3 separate regions of the Homo sapiens genome follow, and regions 1 and 3 are each linked to region 2. Evidence: promoter capture Hi-C in 16 types of primary human blood cells and fetal thymus (Javierre and others, 2016). All regions are on one chromosome and are shown on one strand. Each heading gives the region's core, a stretch centred on a gene start or on the middle of the fragment in contact. The rest is flanking DNA. Distances are from core to core; before and after follow the strand shown. Region 1 holds the start of COG3 (component of oligomeric golgi complex 3). Region 2 holds the start of NUDT15 (nudix hydrolase 15). Region 3 holds the start of GTF2F2 (general transcription factor IIF subunit 2).

The links. The method cuts DNA at HindIII sites, captures the fragments that hold promoters and counts their contacts. A CHiCAGO score of 5 or more calls a contact.
Region 1: a contact is called between the fragment with the promoter of COG3 here and the fragment with the promoter of NUDT15 in region 2, in 6 of 17 cell types (total B cells, monocytes, activated CD4 T cells and 3 more). The highest score is 12.1, in total B cells.
Region 3: a contact is called between the fragment with the promoter of GTF2F2 here and the fragment with the promoter of NUDT15 in region 2, in 2 of 17 cell types (total B cells and non-activated CD4 T cells). The highest score is 6.2, in total B cells.

The regions. Positions count from the first base shown.
Region 1 is chr13:45,463,639-45,466,338 of GRCh38, forward strand. It overlaps COG3 (component of oligomeric golgi complex 3), which reads left to right and starts at 1,301. Exons shown (of 23, transcript NM_031431.4): 1 at 1,301-1,572. The coding sequence starts at 1,399. The HindIII fragment of the contact is 5,472 bases long and covers 1-2,700 here.
Region 2 is chr13:48,036,443-48,039,142 of GRCh38, forward strand. NUDT15 (nudix hydrolase 15) reads left to right here and starts at 1,284. Exons shown (of 3, transcript NM_018283.4): 1 at 1,284-1,462. The coding sequence starts at 1,305. LOC124903172 (a long non-coding RNA gene) reads right to left here and starts at 1,550. Exons shown (of 2, transcript XR_007063788.1): 1 at 1,164-1,550. RefSeq lists enhancers at 412-1,288, 1,289-2,164, 1,331-1,570, 1,621-1,780. The HindIII fragment of the contact is 6,950 bases long and covers 249-2,700 here.
Region 3 is chr13:45,119,129-45,121,828 of GRCh38, forward strand. It overlaps GTF2F2 (general transcription factor IIF subunit 2), which reads left to right and starts at 1,382. Exons shown (of 8, transcript NM_004128.3): 1 at 1,382-1,593. The coding sequence starts at 1,528. RefSeq lists enhancers at 1,012-1,655, 1,416-1,545, 1,656-2,297. The HindIII fragment of the contact is 3,497 bases long and covers 1-2,700 here.

The DNA of each region.
Region 1 (2,700 bases), core at 51-2,550, 2.6 Mb before region 2:
GGGATTTCTCCATGTTGATCAGGCTGGTCTCGAACTCCCGACCTCAGGTAATCCGCCCACCTCGGCTTCCCAGAGTGCTGGGATTACAGGTGTGAGCCACTGCGCCCGGTCTCAAATTCTGCTCTTAAAAGATCAGAGCCTTCATTTGGGAACATAGCCAGGCACTGATTTGTGCTATAAAGCCTGAATAAAGCCTTCAGACTTTACCCAGACAATGGTCAAAATTGCTACGAAGCTGTTTCCACCTGCCTTGACTCCAGGGAGGAGCAGGAAGAGGCCTCCATAACTTGTAGAAGATTGTCTGTTCTCCACCATTTATTTATTCAATCGTTTATTTATAGCAGTATGGACTCATGGGTATTTATTTTATTCTGTAAATTATGATCCAATACTATCATTATTTATTTTGTTGCTCAAATCTACAATATGATTTAAATGGTAGAGTAGAATTACATGTCTGTACCACAAATTATTATTATTATACATTTTGAGACAGTCTCACTTGATGCCCAGGCCGGAATGCAGTGGCAAGATCTCTGCTCACTGCAACGTCCACCTTCCAGGTTCAGGAGATTCTCCTGCCTCAGCCTCTCAGGCTGATTACTGGCATGTGCCACCACGCCTGGCTAATTTTTGTGCTTTTAGTAGAGACGGGGTTCAACCATGTTGGCCAGTCTGGTCTCAAACTCCTGACCTCAGGTGATACGCCCACCTCGGTCTCCCAAAGTGCTGAGATTACAGGCCTGAGCCCCCGCGCCTGGTCTGTGCCACAAATTCTTGATCCAGTTCTTCAATGTTGGACATTTAGGTTGTCTCCAGTTATTTGATACCATTAATGATGTCTGAGATACACACATCTTTGAATTTTTTATGTGTTTCCGTAAATTAGTTTTCTAGTAGGGGAATTACTGGATGTTGGAAAAGTTTATGCTTTTGGTTTTGATCCAAGAGGCATAAATTGTCAACATGCCAACATGGAAATCATACACTCCACACATTCTACCCAGACTACCCAGCTGTAAGCAGAGAGGTGTAGATCCAAGTCTCCTGCCGGCAGGGTGATTTAGCGCAGTTGTCAATAATCTGTACAACACGTAACAATAAAGTTATTGATGTTGAGGAAAAGACTTCCGGTAGGGGCATTTCTATTTCCATTGGGTCCTGTCTTCTCCACCTTCTACGTTTCAACCGGAAATAGTCGTACCCATTTAAAGCCACGTCGGTACTGGCCTCGGTCCCGCCCCCCACACTGCGGAACCGTTTCCGGGGTCAGGGCATTCCGTCCCGCCCCGCCGCCGGTGCAGTGTTGGAAGCTCCGGTTCTCCCGGAAGTGGCCCAGGTCTCTCTGTCGGGGTCCCCTCCATCTCGCTGCTGCTGAAGGCCGCGAGGGCGGCGGCGATGGCGGAGGCGGCGCTGTTGCTGCTGCCTGAGGCGGCGGCGGAGCGGGACGCTAGGGAAAAGCTGGCTCTCTGGGATCGGAGACCGGACACGACGGCGCCGCTGACCGACAGGCAGACGGACTCGGTATTGGAGCTGAAGGCGGCGGCAGAGAACTTGCCGGTGCCAGCTGAGGTGAGGTGATGGGCAGGAACCGGGCCGGGGCGATGGGGCTGGGATTCTCCTCGGGCGCCCCGGCAGGACCCCGGCCTCACTAGCCTCTGCCCAGGATATCTCTCCACTCCTCCCTGGCCATGGTGGCGGATCCGGTGGGAGGGGCCTCATCTCCCAGGCTGTCAGGCTTCGCTCTGCCTGCGACCCCGACTCTAATTCTGCCTGGGGACGGCTGTGGGGGTGTCCTGCAGCTGGTGCTCGCCGGAACCCAGTCCTCCCCCAGCAGCATGGGACGGTTGGCCCGGAGCCTTGCACCGAACGTTTTGCCCCAGACGAGGCGTCCTGTCAGCCGAGGCGTAATCCTGCTGCCCACTCTCTCCCAGAAGGAGAGGCAGTCAACCCGAGGTGCTGTGCTGCAGGACAGTCTCCAGCGCGTGCTCGTTTACCGCCTTAATGATTCACCTAGGTTGCTTTGTCCATGGGGGTCTTGGGGAGACCAAAACTTGGTCCTGAGTGAGTTTCATTTATCGCACATTGAACTATGAGCTCTCAATCAAGTGCAAGTTATGGGAGATCAGATTTATTTCACCTATTGCAAAGCAATAAAAATGAATTTTATTTGAAAGTTGGCTCAGTACATTATTAAGCAGTGCTGGTTTTCGGTGTTAGAGTCAATGTGTTTAATCCACTTACCATTAGGATATTATGCACTACTGCTTCTTGTGTGATTCAATTCAATTAGTTGTAATAGCAGGAAGTAACATGAATTGTCAGATGTTTGACAAACGTTTTCCAGTTTTGAGGGCCAGGTTTAGGAGGATTATTTTATATAAGCAGTGGTGATGGTTACTTTTGATGTTGGAAGCATTCTTTTCTCTCGCTCTGTCGCCCAGGCTGGAGTGCAGTGGCGTGACCTCGGCTCACTGCAACCTCCACCTCCCGGGTTCAAGCGATTCTCCTGTCTCAGCCTCCCGAGTAGCTGGGATCACAGGTGCCTGCCACTACACCCGGCTAATTTTTTGTATTTTTAGTAGAGATGGGGTTTCGCCCTGTTGTCCAGGCTGTTCTCGAACTCCTGACCTCAAGTGATCTGCCCGCCTCGGCCTCCGAAAATGCTGGGATTACAGTCGTGAGCCACCGTGCCTGGCC
Region 2 (2,700 bases), core at 34-2,533:
CAACTGAGTATCGGATTTTATTAATTTTTTTCTGCATCTATTGAGATGATTATATGTATTTCCTTTCTCCCTCTGTTAATATGCTGAATTACATTGGCTTTTCAAATATTAAGCCAACCTAGTATTTCTGGGATTAATCTCATTGTTCAATATATTATCCTTTTTATATACTACCATTTTTTGAGAAGATATTGTAAGTACCTTTGTAATGAATGTGAATGTTGATAGTGAGGAGAGATGCTGTGAAAAGCTTAATACCCATTTAGTATAACATGGAGAGTAAGCATATTACTTAGAAATAAGTAGGCAAATATCAGAAATACAGTTCAAAGAGTTAAAAGTGATTGTTTCTGAAAGTAGGAGGGTCAGGTTGCTCTTGTTGCGGTTTTTGCACCATTTTACTTCTTAAAATTATAGCTATAGGTCAGGCGCAGTGGTTCACGCCTGTTATCCCAGCACTCTGGTAGGCCCAAGTGGAAGGACTGCTTGAGGACAGGAGTTGGAGATCAGCCTCGACAAAAGACCGACAGCCCACCTCCACAAAAAAAAAAAAAAGAAAGAAAATTAGCTAGCTTGGTGAAAATTAAAATAAAATAAAATTACCAGTATGTGCACATTACTTTGGTAGAAGTAAAAATAATGAGAAAGAGAGAAAACCCTCCCAGTAACTAGTCATTTGTTTTTATGATTCAGCTGGTTTGTATTTTGCATGGTGCATGGTGTGCAAACATCTGAAAATGTCTGTTTTCCACTGTTTGTAACTAACTCTTCCCAGCATGATTTATCAATTAGCCTTTATTTCCTCCCATGACTTATGAATATACCTTAAGCATAGTTGTTTATAATGGGATGTTTCTAAACGACCTATCCTTATCCTGGTACCACGCTGATTTGAGCTACAGGGCAAATGGGTGCACCATGGTGGGCGAGGTCATTCACGGAAAAAAGAATGTGCAGTGGTGCCGAGGTTGGTAAGAGCAGGCGGCTTGTACATGTAAATGCATGGTTTGCAGGAATCTGGGAGTGGATAGGCTGACGGGTGATGAATATTCAAAGCACAACTGTAAGCGACTTTAGTTACAGCGAAACTCTAAGGCACGCTGCCCTTCGGAAGGAAACACGGCATTCCCCAACCTGATAGCCCTCCGCGACGCATTACGCACCGCGGACAGCTGGAGAGGCCGAGGCGCTCTCGCTTTGATTTCGGCGCCTCCGCCCTCGCGGGGAGAGATTGGCTGCGGCCGCGGGACGGGGTAGTGAGCGCGTCACTTCCTGCCGCTGCCAGGCGCGTCCTCCCGCGCGCTATGACGGCCAGCGCACAGCCGCGCGGGCGGCGGCCAGGAGTCGGAGTCGGAGTCGTGGTGACCAGCTGCAAGCATCCGCGTTGCGTCCTCCTGGGGAAGAGGAAAGGCTCGGTTGGAGCTGGCAGTTTCCAACTCCCTGGAGGTCATCTGGAGTTCGGGTGAGCAGCCGCGGACGCGAGGAAACCGGGGCGTGCGCAGAGGGACGAACTCACGCCGTGCTTGCTTCCGTGTGCCGTGCGTGAGAACGTCCGCGCTGACGCTGCGTCCTTTCTTGCGCGTTCCCTCGGTTCCTCCCCTCGACTTCTGGGCGACGTAGGATCGCGCCCAGGAGGGGGCGCTGTGCTGGGTCAGGCGAGGTCTTTGCTAGCTGGGTCTTTCCGGCTGCGCCCCTGCTGGGTGGTGGTTGGGAGTTCGTCTGTGAGGTGTGTTTCTCACAGCTTACACACAAAAGGAGGAAAGCAGGTGTGTGTAAACCTCCAGCAGCCCGATATTGTCAGCTAAGACATTGCACCGTTTCCATGTGATTGATTGATTGATCGATTGATTGATTTGAGACTGTGTCTCGCTCTGTAGCCCAGGCCAGAGTGCAGTGGTGCTATCTCCAGTCACTGCAACCTCCGCCTCCTGGGTTCAAGCGATTTTTGTGTCTCAGCCTCCTGGTAGCTGGGATTACAGGCGCCCGCTACCACGCCGTGCTAATTTTTGTATTTTTAGTAGAGACGGGGTTTCGCCATGTTGGCCAGGCTGGTCTCGAACTCCTGACCTCAGGTGATCCACCCGTGAGGTCAATGACCATAGCCAACATTGAGCTCTAATGGGCTTTTTGTTAAAGGCTGGATAATATGCCAAGCTCTTTGCATGTATACTTTCATTTGATCTTTACATAACTGGCATACTCAGTGGGCTAAATTTGATGGGAGAACAAACAGGAAATGGTTTTATTTTCTCCTTCCACTGCCTTCAAACATGATTTTTTCTTTCCCTCTTCAGTGACGTTTCCTGCAAATTCTATAGTTTTCTTGTCACTTGGTTATAAAAATAAATCACATTTGGGTCAGTATGATTCACTTCCAAGCATTTAAAAGTCCAATCCAATTTAAACCTTCAGTGTCACTTCCAGTTTCTAATCCCTCCCCTGCAGTGCATAAAGGAGGTGTGAGCCATTGTTCTGCTTTTCTGTATCCTCCTCCTCTTCTCACCTGGCTGTCTCTGAGTTTCCTTCTTTCTCCAGTGTGTTGGAGGAGGAGAGAGAGCAAGCCATTCAGGTGACTGATGCTGCTCTGATCCATCCATTGGTGTCCTCTGGGCATGATATCCACATGTGTGCTTTCTCAGGGTATGTTTGTCAGTTGTTGGGAAGTCCCACAGAGATTTTCCTGACATAGGTGACGGGCTT
Region 3 (2,700 bases), core at 132-2,631, 2.9 Mb before region 2:
CCCACCTCAGTCTCCCAAAGTTAGGGTTACAGGGTTGAGCCACTGAGCCTAGCCTGAAACTTTCATCTTCAACACACTCCTGGTCTCTCCCATCTTTCCTATTAGTTTTCCTAGCTAAAAGCAGAGTTCTGACAGCTTTTCCTGGCCCTATGCTGAACACACATAAAATTTCCTCAATTTTGTGCAAGGCTCTGATGTGTGATTCAATAAATTACTTGCCATTCTTAACAATACCTTACTGTTTGTTTCTCTTCAGCGAATGTTCTTTCACCCAAAGCCTACTGAAACCTGACAATGTGTTAAACACTGTGCTAGACATTGTGGATATAAAATGAATAAAGCACTATTTTTTATTTGTCAATTATACCTCAATAAAGCTCTTTCCGCCTAGGAGGAGTTCATTGTCTGGAAAGCAAAGGCAGATATGTAAACATATATATTATAGTTCAGAGTGCTAAGTATCACACTGTGATGTGAAGAAAAACTAATTTCTTCTGGGGAAGTTGATAAAAGATCTCATAGGAAGTGACATTTTCATTGGTCTTGAACCATAAGTAGGAGTTTGCCAACCAGAGCACAGGGGTGAGAGTGAGGGCAGGGGTAAAATAGGGCTTCCAAGGGAAGGGAATCCAGTGTGCAGAGGCTCTGAAATGACCGACGAAGATTCTGACGTGTTTAGGGAAGTCTGCTGGGTTTGATGTGGTTTGGTGCATGGCGGAGTGATGGTGGGAGGTGCAAAGAGATGAAATTGAGAGGGCCCAGTTGAAGCAGGAGGATTGAACTTTATTCTAGAGGCAATAAGAGAAAGAGAAAACTGTTTAAGCAGGGGAGGAAACGATCAGGTTTGTCTCTTACTTGTTCGTTTCGTTACAGACTTCCGGGTTTTGGAAACTGAGGTGCTCCGCTTGCTTCATCAGAACAGCTCGGGTAGCCTCTGAGCTGAAACACGGCTTTTTTTTTTCCAGGTCTAGAAACGGCATGTTTTCAATATACCCAAGGCTACTAAGTTTGATCCCAGTGCCCATTTGTGCTAATGACGTTGGCCAGGGACGCCAATTTACTACCCTGACCCTGTCCTTCAAATATTGTCTCTCTCTCCTTGGCTAGGGTTGGACATGTTCTGACACCTTTCGTCTCTTTGAACCCCATTTTTCCGTTCTGATAATCTTTTTCTTCAGTTATGCTGACCATGTCTTTAAATACATTGCTAACGTTTTAGCTCATCCCACCCTACGTTTTAATCCCTCAGATGCAGACATCGCGGACAGCCACGCCCACTCAAGAAATTTCCGAAACAGAAAGTTTGTCTGCAACAGCGCGCCGTACTGACGTAGCAGTGCGCAGGCGCAGTCCCGGCTCCTGGCGGCGTGTTCCTCTTTTCCTCGGTTCCCAGTGTTCTGGCAGGTAAGGAACGCCGGCTCTTCGCCTCTCAGCGCGGCTTGTCCTTTGTTCCGGACGCCCGCTCCTCAGCCCTGCGGCTCCTGGGGTCGCTGCTGCATCCCGCACGCCTCCACCGGCTGCAGACCCATGGCCGAGCGCGGGGAACTCGACTTGACCGGCGCCAAACAGAACACAGGAGTGTGGCTAGTCAAGGTAATGTTCGCGAGTCTCCCACTTGCGCTCCTCCTAACACAAGTATAGTTTAAGTAACTTGAGCCTATCCCGCTCCGTGCGCCTCTTAAAGTTCTTTTACGGCTATCTCGTTAGAGCTTCACACATTTTGAGAGGCAGGAGTCATTGTTGTATCTGTTTGCAGACGAGGAATTAGTTTAGGGACGCAAAGTGTCTTTCAGCCAGTTACTACTCTGAATCTGCCTGGACTAGATCTCTTTCTCACGGCTTTCCTGGAATCTTGTCTTGGTGTCCCCAGATTTGGACGGTGCATTTTATCCCAGACTGAAGAATTCCTTGTATCTTCCCTTGGTGAAACTGGTTTTAGCCATGAGCCTGCGTGAGGTAGTTGAATGTCTACTTTCTGTACAGTTTTCTCGGCCAGAAAGTAGGACTGGTCCCTGCCTACTCTTAAAAGTGTTCTCTTAGGTTGATGGTCCTTAATGAAGCTCTCAAAAGAGGCGAGAGAGCCCCAAACTCACAGAAGGAGAGGTCATTGGACTGGAGTATTCTTTTAGAGCACATTTGGGTCTCGTGAAACTGGCCGTCAATAAACGTTTTATGTGAAGACAGCAATTTTGGTTAGCTCACAGTAAGCACTATTTGTGCTTTATTGTTTCATATTGGGGAGTGTTTTCTCCTAGGGGAGTTTCATAATACTTAAGCATATTCAAAATGTGATCCTGAAAGTCGTTGAAACTTAAAATGTAAGGACTTTTGGTTTCTTAATGCTTTAACTGTTTTATCACATGGCTGAGTTCTCGTCAATTAAATCTAAGAGGTCTTTCTTGTCGGCCTTCCTAAAACAGCCCCCTTGTGATCATTTGCTAACACGACAGATGTGTATTACATTCTTCAAAGCACTTTTCACAGTGTAGAGTGATTTTGTGTTCATATGTTCAAAGTTGGTTACCTCTGTCTTTCCAACACACAGAATCACATTCCATGAGAACAGGATCTTTGCCTGTCATACCCAGAATAGTGTTTGGCGCATGGTAATTACTCAACAAATAGATGATGAATAAATGCATGACCTCTCATTCTTCAGCCCTCGCCTTAGTCTGTGGCACTCATTTGACTTATTTCCAA